Regions from separate parts of the Homo sapiens genome. Here region 2 is linked to region 1. The links are contacts of gene promoters, found by promoter capture Hi-C in blood cells and fetal thymus (Javierre and others, 2016). All regions are on one chromosome and are shown on one strand. Each heading gives the region's core, a stretch centred on a gene start or on the middle of the fragment in contact. The rest is flanking DNA. Distances are from core to core; before and after follow the strand shown. Region 1 holds the start of LPIN2 (lipin 2). Region 2 overlaps LPIN2 (lipin 2).

Region 1 (3,061 bases), core at 399-2,898:
CCAACATGGTGAAACCCCCGGTCTCTAATAAAAATACAAAAATTAGCTGAGTGTGGTGGCTCATGCCTGTAATCCCAGCTACTCGGGAGGCTGGGGCACAAGAATCGCTTTAACAGAGGAGGCAGAGATTGCAGTGATCGGAGATCGCGCAACTACACTCCAGCCTGGGCGACAGAGTGAGACTCTGTCTCGAAATAAAAGAGATACTTCAGTCTGACATACCACAATCAACTACAATGTAATTGGAGGGAAGAGCCGATGTTGGACGGCTATCACACGTGGCTTCACACTGTTCTTTTTCTTCTCTGGCTGGGTACGGCCTGAGGATGACTGCCCTCCAACAACTGAGGATGCTGCAGGAGGACCAGCCCAGCACCTGTCTCCATCCCCTGCACTGTGTGGCCGGCTCTGCCGCTTCTCCCCCGCTTCAGCATCACCTGCCACTTCTTCTCAATCTGAAGCCACTAAGAACGATCAACACCAGACCGTTAAAACATAAACCAGTATGGGCCACTAAATAATTCGTAAATATTTCAAAATGTATTTCAAAACCGACTTTGTATTGTCAAAACATTATAATCTAGCCAGGCCAAGTTTTAATAAACAGTAACACCCATCATCACTACTGGGTAAAGAACTTCATTCAACAGGACCTACCTTGACACCAAGTCTAGAGCCTCGTTTTCAATTAAAAAAAAAATGGGTAAGCCCCAAATGTGCATTAAAAATTAGTTTGGCCATTTACTAAGTAGTCCTTCAAAGCATTTCCAAGTATTCAGAGTTCCAGTACTTTTCGGAAAGGAAGGGTGATCTTTCTGGTACTGGTTTGCATAATTATGCCTAAAAAATGTCATCTTGAATTTTCAATGAAAAGAGTCTTAAAATGTTCAGGCGAGTGGAGAAAATGGTGATCCGCTGGCGTTAGAAGTGGACAGAGAGGCTCTCAGTACAAACTGTATCTGAACGTGTTCCTCACAAATTAAGATCTGCACCGGGGGCTGGGGGGCTTTGAGAAAACTAACCACATTTGAATCCGGTCCACACAGCTTGAAGGCGGAGGTACGGGGCAAAGCGCGGCGGGGAAGAAACACCAGCAACTCGGCGGCCCCCGCCTCGCCGCAGATCACGTGCCCGGCGCCCCCTCCCGCAGGGCCGGGGGCGGGATGGAGACGCGGCCTCCCGCGCGCCTTCCGCACTCCCCTCCGCGCCCCAAACCCAGGGGTAGGGGTGGTCTCGGGTAACCATCCCCAGGGCGGCGGCGAGGGAACTGCGCGGGTTCAGAGTCCTCAGCAGCCACCACTGACGCCCCGACGCCCCCGGCTCCCCGCGCACCCCGCCGGTCCGTCCTGCGGCGGCGGCGGTAGGGGCCGCGTCTACGTGGCGCGGTCGCGGCGAGGCGGGGACTGGGACGCGAGGACCGGGAAGCGGGGACCGCGGCGCGAGGAGGGGCGGCTCAACCCGCGCCGCCCCGGAGGGTCCCGGCCTCCGGCAGGACAGCCCCGGGCCCGCGCCAAGGGAAGCCCCCAGGCGCAGACACTCACCGCCAGCCCCGGAGGGACGCCTGCGAGGAGCCCGGCCCGCGCCCACTTACCCACAGGGGCTCCGCTCCCGGCCAGCGGGCGGCTGAGGGCAGGCGGCGGCTGGACTGCGACGGCTAGGACCCGCCGGGGAGGGAAGCCGAGGGGGCGGGGCCGGTCGGGGGCGCGCGCGGGGTCGGAGCGCCCGCAGCCGCCGCTGCCTTGGAAGCCGCCTGGGCCGCAGCTGAGTCGGGCGGCCCTCATGAATGGGACGCCGCGGCTGCGGCGGCCGAGCCGGCAGCTGGCGGGCGGGCAGCGCGCAGGCCCCGCCCCAGCCACGTGACGCGCGCTCCCGGCCGCGCGCCGCGCCCCCGCCGCCGAGCGCCAGGCGTGCGGCTTCTCACCGCTCCCAGTCCCTGGGCTGCGCGCCCGGGCCCCTGGCCAAGTGAGGGCGGGGCCTCGATTTTCTAGTGCCTCGGGCGACAGGAGCCTTACTTTGTTTTAAAAAAAAAAAGTTTCTTCCGGTCCCCATGGCAACCCTGCGGCAGGTCACGTGGGACTGAGAGCCCAATTGCCAAAAAGGAATGTTAAAGTGCAAAAAAAGTCTAGGGAATGAATGTTTTATAATCCCCTTTTGATCACTAGTAGCACATCTCCTTTGCTTACTTACATCTCCACCGAAAAAAAAAAAATCCTATTACACAACTCATTTTTAAAAATATGCCGGGGTTCTGTTGTTTTTTGTTTATTCTTTTTATCGCTCTGTTACCCCGGCTGGTCTCCAACTCCTGGGCTCAAGCATCCCCGCACCTCGGCCTCCCAAAGTACTGGAATTACAGGCATGAGCCACCGTCCCCAGCATTAAAATATACTTTTTAAGAAATGGGTGGCTCACGCCTGTAATCCTAGCACTTTGGAAGGCCGAGGCAGGCGGATCACTTGAGGTCAGGAGTTCAAGACCAGCCTGGCCAACATGGTGAAACCCCCGTCTCTACTAAAAATACAAAAAACCAGCCGGGCGTGGTGGCGCGTGCCTGTAATCCCAGCTTCTCAGGAGGCTGAGGCAGGAGAATCAGTTGAACCCGGGAGGCGGAGATTGCAGTGAGCCGAGATGGCGCTATTGCACTCCAGCCTGGCGACAGAGAGACTCCGTCTCAGAAAGAAAAGAAATGGGGCCCGGCGCGGTGGCTCACGCCGGTAATCCCAGCACTTTGGGAGGCCAAGGCGGGTCGATCGCCTGAGGTCAGGAGTTGGAGACTAGCCTGGCCAACGTGGCAAAACCCCGCCTCTACTAAAAATACAAAAATTAGCCGGGCATGTTGGCTGCAATCCCAGCTACTTAGGAGGCAGAGGCGGTAGAATCACTTGAACCCGGGGGGCGGAGGTTGCAGTGAGCAGAGATTGCGCCACTTCACTCCAGCCTGGGAGCGAAACTCTGTCTCAAAAAAAAAAAAAACAAAAAAAACTGGATTGCTGGTGCTATATACTATTGGTGCACACTGGTTTTTAATTTGCAGCCTATTCTATTACTATTCTATGATTGA
Region 2 (3,372 bases), core at 553-3,052, 42 kb before region 1:
GAATCGTTCTGAGCTGGTGTTGGGCCTCAGAGGACTCCCTCCTGAGAGAATGAGATTTAGCCAGGATGAGGTGTGCTTTGGAGGATCTGAGGTTCTAGTCAATTCCCCGTAGATCACAAACTCTGTCTTTCTAAATCAGAGCAACCCCATCACCTCCACTGTTTGAAGTCGCAGTCAGGGAGGTTTTTATATCTAACTTCTTTTTCCCCACTAAATGAGGAAAACTGGCAAGGAGCACACTCTAGGTCAGTATTTCTCAAAGAGTGGTCCTTGGACTGCCTGCAATAGAAGCAAGTTTTGGTGCTTAAGAATGTAGGTTCATTCATGAAAAATACGGGAAAGGGGGATAAAAACAAATACACGCTCATGAACCCCAACCCAGACCTACTACATAAAAAGCTGGAAATGAGGTCTTAAAAATCTGTTACCCACGATTCTGACAGACACCCAAGTTTGGGAACTAACTCTAGGCTCTGTTGCAAGAACTTTCTCCTCTTAAGCCTGATTAAGTTTGTTATGAAGACTAAGTTGTTATGGGCTCAAGTTCACATCCTGTCGTATAAAGATGTCAAGGTCTGATAAGTGTGGATCAGAAGTGGAAGCAATAGATAGTAATAGAATTTTAGACATTTTAATGACAGCTGACCTGACTGTTTTATGATACTTAAATTCTAGAACTGGCAGTGCTTCTGTGAAAAAACTCAGAAATTCTGGCCTGGGAAGACTGCTTGCCTAAGGACCCCTTCCACAATTACAACCAAATATTACTCAATATCAACCTTTGGGATACGTAAGAAGAGGGGATTTTCTGATTCAATATTTCTGTTTGGGAATTTAAACAGACACATAATGCAATGGCTAGATCTGAAGGTAAAAACAGGGCTCCCTGGATTTCAATGATTTCAGTGCTCAGAGAGGCACCGAAACACAAGGGTGGGCCCCCAGTAGCCATGTCTATAATACGGGACCCAGGTCTTGGTATCTGCTGGCTGACAGGGGTGGGAAACATCTGGCCCAAACAGATATTCATGAAACGTATATGGAGAGCCAAGGCCACCCAAGACTGGGAGGGCTGGGCTACCTGAGATGGGATGCAGAAGGCCCACCAGCTTGGAACACTGACACCCCAGGTGGCCCTGGCTCTTGCCCTCTTGGCATCTCTCTGAACGATGAGCCAGTCATAAGTTTCTTTGCGTGGTTGTTCAGAGTCCATTTCCAATGTTGCCAACAGAGGACTTAAATCAGACAGGCTAGATCCTGACTGGATAAAGCCACCTGGAGCCCTAAAACACCCTCCTGCAAATATCAGCCTGGCAAAACTAGCAAGAACATGCTTCAAACATAACCCAGATAACACTTTATGCTACTTAACAACTTAATCTGTTGAGAAAAAAATTTTTAATTTTTTAAAAATGAGAAAATATGAAGCTGGCCTTAAGCTTAGTTCTCAGGGCTGATAAGTTTTAAATTAGGATTTTTGGATCTGTCACCATGTTATTTCCTTTGAGGGAATCTGAAAGCTCAGACTTCTGCTCACTGAGTTCACTTCACTATGATGATTTCAACACACTCACTTTCTATAAACAGATGAACTGCTTTGTTGGACTGAGTAGGGCTCAGAAAAGGGAAGACGCTTTCCCAGTATAGCAATGCACCCTCTCTCCGAGTGGCGGCCCAGACCTTTACTCAACGACAGTGTCTACTTCAGCTTTTCAGCAGGTATAACTTAAGGAAGGACCATAAACATCACCTATTTCATCTTCAAAAATTACCAGCCCCCATCTTCTACCCACCCCAGTCATCAGCCCAATAATTTTCTGGACAATTCTTCAAAAGCCAATACCAGTTTTCATCTTAATCTGGTATTTCGTAAGAGGAGCAAGGATGTTTCAGGTTCCCTGGGTAAGGAGGAAGTGGGATCAAAAAGGAACGTACATCCACAACAGATTGTGAATCCCCAGAGCACAAAGGCAAAGATCAAAAAGATGATAGGGGAGGATGTGTGGGCTCAGCGGCTGAGAAGAAAGCAGAGGTCACAAGATGGGATCTGTTGCTGTGAGTGCCCAAGGCCCCCTGCCCTCTCCCTACCACAGCACCCACCACGCGGCATGAACATTTAGGCTACCTTCAAACTCTTGAGTTCCGGTAAGGAAGAGAAAAGTCCCGCAAGCTTCACTGCTTCCTGAAAGCTTGGCACAGTGCCTAGCAATAGTAGGTTCTTAATAAGTGGTTTTGGATCAATGAATGGACCAATGAATAAATGAATGAATGAATGCAAGACCTAGTGAACAGAATCAGCAAGGAGAGGGAGAAATATACACAGTGTTGCGTTTTATCTCACTGACTTAGAGTAAAATTCAAGAGGTAAGTGAAGATACATATAACCATGCACTGGAAAAAAAAAAAAAAAACAGGCTGGGTGCGGTGGCTCACGACTGTAATCCCAGCACTTTGGGAGGCCGAGGCGGGGGGTGGATCACCTGAGGTCAGGGGTTTGAGACCAGCCTGGCCAACATGGTGAAACTCTCTACTAAAAACACAAAAATTAGCCAGGCATGGTGGTGGGCACCTGTAATCCCAGCTACTCAGGAGGCCGAGACACGAGAATCGCTTGAACCCAGGAGGTGGAGGTTGCAGTGAGCCAAGATCGCGCCACTGCATTACAGCCTGGGCGACAGAGTGAAACTCCATATCAAAAACAAAACAAAACAAAAAAACAAAAACAAAGAAAAGAAATCCATGGTGGAAGTTAACCCAAAGTCCCAAAAGCAATGCCCATGTGTTCAGACCAATACTTTCCTCCAGAAGCTGCTGAAGACCTCACAGAGAAAAACTTGCATAAATCTAGTCTATGTCAGTGACAAAAATGACACCGCCTCAGGATGGGTAAATCTAAAAATATCCCCGTGAGAACAAATGACAGCCAAGTAGATCATTCTGGAGAATACTGAGCAGCGCAGCAGCAACTCGCGGCAGAGACTGCTGGTCATCAGAGGAAGTCAGTGTGAAGTCAGCCGAGGCAGGGGCAAGGGTGCCGTAACTGCATTATTACAGAAAACAAAGTGAAACACAACCACAAAGTTATCCATCTTCTACTAGTCAGCTGACTTTTACGAAAATGCCCAATATAATTATGCTACAGAGCACAGCCTTTAAGGAAAATGGCTGGAAACAATAGTTTAATTTTCCTGTGCTCAATAATGTACCAGAACATTAATTTTCTTCAGAAATAGAACCTGGTACAGAGCAAGAAAAACTAGTGTTCAATTTTATCGTTAAATTTCAAAATAACATGTGTGGCTTAAGGAGATCCTAAAACGGTAAGCAGCACCCTCAAAAGGGGGCCCCAACTCCCTTCCTCAGCCCCGACAA

Evidence for each region. Contacts are between HindIII fragments. The CHiCAGO score rates a contact against its expected background, and 5 or more counts as called.
Region 2: a contact is called between a fragment that was not itself captured here and the fragment with the promoter of LPIN2 in region 1, in 1 of 17 cell types (non-activated CD4 T cells). The highest score is 6.7, in non-activated CD4 T cells.

The regions. Positions count from the first base shown.
Region 1 is chr18:3,011,496-3,014,556 of GRCh38, forward strand. It overlaps LPIN2 (lipin 2), which reads right to left and starts at 1,649. Exons shown (of 20, transcript NM_001375808.2): 1 at 1,592-1,649. RefSeq lists a silencer at 1,090-2,039. The HindIII fragment of the contact is 8,581 bases long and covers 1-3,061 here.
Region 2 is chr18:2,969,353-2,972,724 of GRCh38, forward strand. All of the region lies in intron 1 of LPIN2 (lipin 2), which reads right to left. It overlaps LPIN2-AS2 (LPIN2 antisense RNA 2), which reads left to right. Exons shown (of 3, transcript XR_001753322.2): 3 at 676-757. Among named protein-coding and RNA genes, the nearest start is that of LPIN2-AS2, 4.0 kb to the left of the region's middle. RefSeq lists an enhancer at 3,250-3,372. The HindIII fragment of the contact is 731 bases long and covers 1,438-2,168 here.